Regions from separate parts of the Homo sapiens genome. Here region 2 is linked to region 1. The links are contacts of gene promoters, found by promoter capture Hi-C in blood cells and fetal thymus (Javierre and others, 2016). All regions are on one chromosome and are shown on one strand. Each heading gives the region's core, a stretch centred on a gene start or on the middle of the fragment in contact. The rest is flanking DNA. Distances are from core to core; before and after follow the strand shown. Region 1 holds the start of VANGL1 (VANGL planar cell polarity protein 1). Region 2 overlaps LOC112268235 (a long non-coding RNA gene).

What was found. Contacts are between HindIII fragments. The CHiCAGO score rates a contact against its expected background, and 5 or more counts as called.
Region 2: a fragment that was not itself captured here is called in contact with the fragment with the promoter of VANGL1 in region 1 in 1 of 17 cell types (erythroblasts); the score reaches 5.0 in erythroblasts.

What each region holds. Positions count from the first base shown.
Region 1 is chr1:115,640,133-115,644,648 of GRCh38, forward strand. It overlaps VANGL1 (VANGL planar cell polarity protein 1), which reads left to right and starts at 1,838. Exons shown (of 8, transcript NM_138959.3): 1 at 1,838-1,954. RefSeq lists a silencer at 1,570-2,559 and an enhancer at 1,695-2,453. The HindIII fragment of the contact is 1,717 bases long and covers 1,035-2,751 here.
Region 2 is chr1:116,494,613-116,498,886 of GRCh38, forward strand. The region is part of intron 1 of LOC112268235 (a long non-coding RNA gene); the gene reads left to right. Among named protein-coding and RNA genes, the nearest start is that of LINC01762, 18 kb to the left of the region's middle. The HindIII fragment of the contact is 1,376 bases long and covers 1,993-3,368 here.

The sequences.
Region 1 (4,516 bases), core at 588-3,087:
AGATGGGGTTTCGCCATGTTGGCCAGGCTGGTCTTGAACGCATGACCCCAAGTGATCTGCCCATCTCAGCCTCCCAAAGTGTTGGGATTACAAGCTTCAGCCACCAAGCCCGGCCTCTACATGGCATTTAAAGGTGAATTTATTATTTTAAAATAGGTTATTTGCAACTACCCCTCTTTCCCACAAAACATCATCTGGTAAGGTGGCTAGACATAAGAACCTAAGTGAATTAGAATTACTTTCTGAAAACTCATTGAAGATCTCTGTGTTAATTGGAGCTATTCAGGTACATGACTAGAATTGGAAATCCCTGGCCTGTTTGAACTTTGAAAGTTCTACATTTTAGAGATGAGAGAGACATGTTTTTATAATGTTCTACATTTCTGACCCTGAGTGCTGATTTGGGTGAATAGACCATTGGCTTTACCCATAGGAACCTGGCTGCCTGAGTCAGCAACATCTGCTCTCTGGAGCCTACTGGGAGGCTGGGGGTGGGGGAGGAAGATGGTCTAGGCCACTGAGTGGGGCAGCAGAGCCTGGGGACTAGGAGTGGTGAAAATCAGCCACATTGAACATATGGGTGTCTTCTCAAGGAAATGTGACATATGCGAGAGAAAATGGAGTCTAGAAGGGATGAGGAAGAGGTGATCAAGGGAGTGAGGGGTTCTTGGAGCCAAGGTTCCCTGATTAAGGCTAGTCAGGGTGGGCCTGCATTTCCCCACCCCAAATGCCCGCAATACTCCTGTAGACAACTCTTAGGAAATTCAGCACTTCATTATACACTGCTTCCACTGGAAAATCCTGCCACGTAAGCAGCTTTGGGTCCCAGCTAGATTGGAGATGATCAGTAAGGAACCCTAATGCTACCAACACAAGACAACTAAGAAAAGTGCAAATATTCATGAAAATCGTTGCCAACTGTTTTGTAATCCTCACCACAATCCTGCAAGGTGGACAGCAGCATCCTCACCACTTTTCAGACAGGTAAACAAAGGCTCAGAAAGGAAACAGTACCTGGTTGGAATCAGCACTGAAGCTTCAGCTACCTGCCTGCAGAGATGTGCTCATCTAGCAGTTTCTAGGAGACTAGGCTGGCGGCAGTGCCTGCTCTGATAAGGGAGGAGGAGGGGAGAGGCTTGCTGTGGTGGCTTGTAGGGGGTGTGTGTGTGTGTGTGTGTGTGTGTGTGTGTGTGTCTATTTGTGGGGTCATTTCCAGGGCTACATGTGAGTTTAAGTGTGTGTATATGGGTTGAGATATGGTGTATATGGATATTTGTCGGTCAGTTCTTGGAAAGTGTGTATATGAGTGTGTGTTGAGTGGGGTTGGGGGGTTAGTCCCTGAGCCGTGTGAATATGTGGATGGGGGCACTCGTGAGGGCAAATGGGCTCGGATTTTGTGCATGATTGTGTGTGTGTGTGTGTGTGTGTGAGCTTGAGATTCCAAGTATGTGGGGGAGGGAGGGGGCGGTGTCGGAGATCAATCCCTGGGCCATGTGTTTATAGTGTGTGTGTCTGCCCAGAAGAGAGTGGGTTACTGGGCTGTGCACGTCTGTGTAGGGTGAGTGTGTGTATGAGGGTGAATGAGTGTGGGAGGTGTCATTCCCTGGTCCGTGTGTAAGAGTGTGACCGCGCACGCCTTCGTGTGTGTCCCGGGTGTGTGGGGTCGGGGCGGTGACGAGGTGAGGGGGACGCCGGCCGAGCCCCGCCCTCCGCTGCAGGTGGGCCGGCCCCGCGGCGGGGCCGGCAGCGCTAGCTGTTCTTGGCTCGCGGCCGCGCCGGGCTCGCAGGGCTGGGCTCGGGCTGCGGGGCGGCGCCGGGACAGGAAGCGGAAAGCAGCAGTGCAGCGGCGGCGGCGGCGGGGCTCTGCCTCTCCAGGAGCCCAGCGCAGGCCGCAGAGCCGGGGCCGCTGTGAGCCGAGACCGCGGGCCGCGGAGCTCGGGCGGCCGGCGCGGAGGTGAGTCCCGCGAGAGGCCGAGCGCTGCGCGGCGGCGGTCCCCGGGGCAGACCGTTGGCTGGGAGACGCCCCCACCTCGGACCCCGCGTGCCCCTGCGCCCTCCTCCCGCATTCGCCCCGCCGGACTTCGACCCCGGGTGGCCGGCTCCCGCCTCGGGCCGGGGGCTCCCTCCCCTCCTCCGGAGCGCTCCGGGTAGTGCTTCCTCTGACTCCACTCTTCTCCCCATGCGTTGCGCCCCTCCTGGCCCTGCCGTGCGATCTCCGCCGCACCCCACTCCTTGGGGTCCCGGGGTTCCCTGCTCACACCTCGGACGTCCCTTTCTCCCCGGGCTGGCCTTTGGAGTGCGCCCCTTCGGTGCGCGTGCCGGGGCGGCGGGCAGGCCGGCAGGGAGTGGCCGAGCGTTGGAGGCACCGGGCGGCTGCAGCAGCCGTGCAGGGCGGGAGCCGGGCGCGCACCGGGGTTCCCACCCCTGGCGGGGCTCGACCCGGGCGCCGCCTGGCCCTTCGCCAGGAACCGGGACAGAGCTGGTCTGTGTGCACACCTCGCTCACAAAAAATTGAGCCGGCCCTGGAGGCCTGGGGGGCGAGTCCGGTTGCGCCTCGGAGAGCGCAACAGGCAGGTAGGAGTTTACTTTCAAAAACGCCGGGGTGGAGCAGAGGCGCCTGGCGGGTCTCTGCCCAAGGTGTCCCTGCTGGAGGAAATCTCACCGCGCCGGGGCAGCCTTCGCCACCGGCAGGACCTCATTTCCTTCTGCAGTCTTTGAACTGCCCCAAGCATCGCGCCTAGAGAAGTGTGAAGCTTTATAAAAATTTAAACGCGTCCGTGGTGGCGGCAGCAGTGGGGCGGAGCCGCGGCCTGGCTGCTGTGTGATGAGCAGATGAGACTTGGAGCTGAGGAATCTGTTGCTCAGTTTTCACTTCTCCAAACCAGGTCTAATGCCCACGCTGCGAAGGTGTTGTGAGCTCTCTTAGATTCTCCTTAGGAAGTGTTAGAGCGCCTTATGATGATGATTGTGTAGATGGCCCATGCATTTTGTTAAAACTCTTGACCTGGCTTTGGTTAGAAATGAATGTATTCTTAGACACTTAGTCCAAAAGCTAACAAACTGTAAAAGAATCTGGCATTTTCACTGACATGTTTATAAATTTTACGGGGCTGCTGAAAAATATTATAACTTGTATCACCAGTCAACAATGCTAATTAGCATTCTCCCGTCAGTGGGTGGGTTGAGTACACAGCTCCCAGGCTCTGCAAGTGAGATGGCAGAAATTGTCTGAATACAGGGAGAGGTAATTAGCCATTTTCTGTAACCACTAATTATAGAGTTTTTAGGGTTGAATTAAATCAATGTGATATAGTTGGGGCTTTGATTTGTGGGAGGAAACTGTTTCTTTTTCCAGTTCAAAGAAATAACACGCTTCACCTATCCATGAGCATTAAACATTCCCAAACGTTGATGTCTCTCAGTATAATTAGTGAAAACACTCAGTGTGGAATTTCACTATTAACAATGTTGGCAGTGAGGCTTGCTTGCAACTTAATTTGTAAGTAAAATGGGAGAAGAATTTTGAGAGTGATATATTTGTAAGGACTGCTTGCCAAGCAGTACATTTTTATTGTCTTATGTATTAAGCAACAGGACAAAACCATAAAGGAAATTTAAAGTTTCTTTACCAAGCAACAATTCCATGTCACCCTTTGTTTGAAGGATAAATGTGTTGAATGAAGAAGGCATCCTCCCCTTCATCATCCCCTTAACACACTTATATACACACACTGTGCTTGCTACCCTAGGCCTTATCAGCTATTTTGGTGGGATGGGCCCTTGTCACATTGTGTTTTAATTGGAGGTCTCCACATTGGGGCTGTGAGCTCATTGGGAGTTAGAACTATTTTAGATCCATTTCTTTTCTCCTGAGTGCCCCACGATGCTTGGAACACTGAACCTGTGAGTAGAAGTTGAAATTGCAAAATTCTTAGTGGGGTTATATGTGGTTTGGGACAATTTGTGATTGTTGCTTATACTCCTCTATATAAACAAACAATTCTAGTAATTGCTACAGTGCTGTCAATTTTCTGTAGCTAAGAACACAGGTTCTGGAGTTAGACTCTCAACGTTTAAGCCCTGGCTCCTGTGGCAGTCTGGTTTCCCTAACTAACATGATATTAATGTCTTATTTTTCTTAAACACTTGTTATGCGGATTAAGTGAGATATTACATGTAAGTGACTTAAAACAGCATCTAACACATAGTAAACACTTGACAACTAGAAACTGTTAGACTATTACCATCATCTCTGTAAAATCAGCTAGCTGGTTAGGGTCTCGCTGTATAGGGCATGTGATTTGGGCATCATGCTATTCTATTTTCCTTAAGATGGAAAAGATTAGGTGGGCTTGTGATTGGACCATGTTTCTGTTAGCAATATTGGTTTGGTGTTAGCAGTATTGGTTTGATGTTAGCAGTATTGAAGTTTGATGCAAGGATACATGTGTGTGCTGTTGTCTCTAGCAGTGTCCTTCTGAATCCCAGTTACAGGACAACAGTGATCAGACTCTGT
Region 2 (4,274 bases), core at 1,431-3,930, 860 kb after region 1:
CTGACAGGCCGGCGGCTGCCCTCTCCCAGGGACAGCCTTGGTCCAAAAGAATAAAGGAGACCTTGCAGGCCAGAACCCAAAAGTGCAAGGTGCAGGTTTGCAAAGTGTGTCCCTCAGGCTCTGTGCATCCCCAATCCAGAAGTTGAACACCCATCCACATGGTGCCTTCACAGCACATGAAGAAAAAGAGGGGCAGGTTGCAGAGGAGCAGGACAGGGGGACGTGTTGCCAAGAGCAGGCAAAGGTCTGACCTGATGGCAGCTCTGAATTGGGTCTGGCGGGAGTTGGAGGTAACTGCATTATGGGAAAGACTGAAAGGTTAATATGAAACCAGCTGATACTGAAAGAGAACAATTAGGAAGGTTAAGGGGTTTAATATTAGATAAATGGCTGCCAGAGGATAAAGTTCACAACTTCCATGAAAGAAGTCTGACTCAGAGAATTCTTTTTAGTGGACCAGACCAAGGTCTGATTTTGTTATTTTTTTTTCTTCCCAGTAACTGAGAGAAAATTACCATTCATTCACATAAGATTCATTCTCTTCCCTCCTCCTGCTCCTTCCTCCGGCTTCCCATCTCTCTCCTGTTTGGAAATGTCTGATTTCCTTCCAGTTCTGGAATGAATCAGGGTCCCACCTTCCAGTCTGCATACCCCACACTCCTCTCCACCTGTAGGGGTTCTTTCTCAGTGAGATTTGTGGGGCCCTACAAGAATATTTTTGTCAGTGTTGCTTGTATTCTGGAAATATTTCAGGCCACTAAGCGATCTCACAGATCAGTAGTCAACCCAGGCGAGACATTCCGAGCCAATAAGGAGTTAACCCAAACATGGGGAGACGGGCTGGTTGATTTGAGGTGGCTGAGGAGATTGGGGGAGATGGGGAATTCTCATAGTCTCCAAACCCAGCAATTCCTTCCTGGGAGTTTTTTAAACATTCCTTCCTGGGAGAAGGGCCTCTGATGGGGACAGCTGATAAAGGAGCTGCCACCCCCTCCTCCAGCTCCCCACCCCCGTGCCCCACTGGAAGACAGGCTTGATTTCCACATCCTGCCTAGCACGGGCTTGGTGAAGCTGGCAGAAGCCCTCTCATCAGTCTCTGTTCTTCTGTCTGGACTGAACCCTCCAGCCCAGGCTTCAGGCCAGGCCTTTGTCTGAACAGATTCCCAGGCCCCACCCACCCTCGACTAACTGAATTTGAATCTTTGAGGGCACAGTCTGGGCATCTGCATATTCTGAAGTTCCTCGATGACCCCATGACCTGCCCAGTTTGGGAACCACTGGCTCAGGGGCCACATGGAAAAAAGGCCAGGCAGGGAGGGGCCGGGGCCTCTCAGACTTTGGGCTGGGCCATTTGTGTGATTCCCTAGTTCCCATCCCAGCCAGTGAGTTTCTTGGAGCAGACATTTCCTCTTACTTATCCCCTCTTACAATCCCCACACAGGGCTGGCCACGTTTAGTATGTGGGAGCTGAATTAAGTTTCCAAATCTCATGGCTCATGTCTGTAATCCCAATATTTTGGGAGGCCAAGGCGGGAGGATCACCTGAGCCCAGAAATTTGAGACCAGCCTGGGCAACATGGGAAGACCCTGTCTCTACAAAAATTTAAACGTTAAAAATATTTTTTAATTAAAATTTTGAAATGTCTCCCCTTCCTAGACCCTGAACCTGTTCAGTTCTCAAGTTGACATGTTCAGAGGCCTGGCTGGTAGAGCCCGGGCCTGGTCCCACAGAATCAGCATGGTCCTGAAACACAAGAGCACAGGAGGCAAAGCTGGAAGGGCCCTTAGAGAACCTCTAGTCCAATAGCTTTCAAATTGTAATCCTAGGTACCCTGGGGTCCCATGGTGGAACCTCAGAGAGCAGGAAAAGGGAAGGGCAGAGGCTCAGTGGGAGGAAATGCCGGCCCTCCCCCCACCTCCACCCTTCCTTCAACCAGGCCAGCTCTGCTTTCACAGCTTTGTGTGACTTTCGCAATAACCAAATGGCTTCCAAGCTTCTCCCCTTGCCAACCCCACCCCCAGCCCCTGTCTATTTTCCATCTGGTGTCCAGAATGATCATTTCAAAACATAAGGCTCATCATGTCCCTCTTCTGTTCAAGACCCTACATTTGGCTTTCCATTTCACTCAACAGCAATCCAAGGTCCTCTTCATGGCCGGCAAGTCCCACCTGTTCTCACCCCGGCTGCCCCTACCTCATCTCAGCCACGCTGGCCTCCTTCGTATCCCTGAATGCACCAAGCAGGCTCTTATCCGACACCTGGGCAGGTCTTCTTCCTTCTGCTGGAAACACTCTTCCCCAAATAGCTGCATCCCTTGCTTCCTCTTGTCCTGACCACCCTATCAAAAAAGGCATCCTGTTCCATCAGCCCAGCCCCTTCCTGTACTGTACTGACTGTCCCTACTGAAATATAGGCTCCACGAAGGGGAGGACTTTGTTTTTTTTTCACTGCTATGTCCCCAGCACCAAGAACAACAGTGGCTGGCACATAGTAGGTGCTCAATAAATAATGATTTCCTGATTTAATCAGATTGGTTTTGAGTCTAAAGTTATTTTGTACGTTTTCTTCTTTACACATTTCTCTATTTTTCAAATTTTCTGCAGTAAATATGCATGTTTTTACCATCAGAAAAAGCAGTAAATGACATAGTCTTTTCTCTAGGACCAATCTTTGGGAGACTCAGAGCTGCTAGAGAATAATTTAAGAAGATGAAGGGAGGCCCTGCCTTGAGCCCCTGGTTCTGAGCAGCACCAGGTCGGTCCTGGTAGACTATAACAATACCACTGATTCCTAATGGTGGATGGGGGAACTTAGTGGGGCTAAGCAGACCCCACTTACCTAACAGCATTTTGTCTTGGGGTCACTGGGGAAGGAGAGAGAAGGAGTGAAAACACGACCAGCAGCAACCCCCTCCCCACTGAAATGCACCAGGATCTCCCTAACCCGATACAACAGACATGAGGACATGGGCTCCCAAGCACCCTCCAGTAAGGCATTGTGGCCATAGGTCATTCTTTAACTGGCACAACTGGCTTTTCTCAGACAGACTTTCTCTTTATTTTCTTCAGGGACTATTACTCTGAGGCCTAGTACCTGCTGCCTCTGCTTATATGACTGAATCTAGAACAAAGAAGAAACATCTTAGCTGAGGGGTCAGGGCTCTGGCCTGACAGAAACCCTGTGGTCTTGTCTCCATGTCAGAGCCCCATGACTCCAAGTGGGTGGGAGTCCTGGGCTCGCCCATGACTCATTGTTCGAGTTCGTAGAGAACTCAGAAGTTCCATATGGAAGCACAGCCTCACAGGCTAGAGACAATTCAGGAAACGAAAGCCCCATTCACTTGATTATTGGTTCATTTTCTGATGGAAGCTTTGCTGATCCTCTTTCATAAGGACCATCTGAAATAGACAACTGAAAAGAGAACTAGGGGGCCATTTCCCTTCCCTCCTCTAGCCCCTGAGCTCGGTCATCAGAGTCATGTGGACCCTAGCCCCTGGAGCTGGATAGGGCCCAGGGGTCATCTGGCCACTGTCTGTTTCATTGTGACTTACCAGGCAGGCCCCCTGATACTCAGGGACACAGCTGCCTGCCTCCTGGGCTGACTTTCCTGCAATGCTCTAGAGCGGAGCCAGCCAGCTTCTCCAAGAAGCCGGTGGTAAATACTCGCTCTGGGCACTGTCACCTTTTCTTTGTTTTTTCCTTACAACCCTTTAGAAACATAAAACCATCCTGAGCTCACGGGCTTCACAGAAACAGGCTGTGAGGATAGGCAAAGTACAGCCCATGAGCAAGACCCAGCCCACTGCCTGTTTTTGTAAAATAAAGTTTTAGTGGACACAGCCCTGCTGATCTCTTGATGAATTGCCTATGGCTGCTTCCACGCTACTACAATCGTGGAATTCTGTAGTTGAGACAGAGCCTGTAAGGTCAATAAAGCCAAAAATAGTTTCTATCTGTCCCTTCATAGAAAACATCTGCCAAGCCCTTCTCTAAAGTTTCATATGCATTCGTTCCTATTTAACACTCAAAACAATTTTTGAGATTAGTATTAGAGATGAGTATTCCTAATCTTACAGATGAAGAAACCGAGAACGAGAAAGGATAAGGCTTGCTCAAGGTCACATGGCTAATGAGGGGCAGAACCAGAACCCAAACCCAGATCTCATCTCTAAACCAGGGCTTCTTCACCTGGTGAAGCCGCTCCCGAAAGGTGGCAATTGTGAAGCGTGGAATATATCTCCTGTTCAGCCCCATCAAGTAGGGTAGCAGCAGG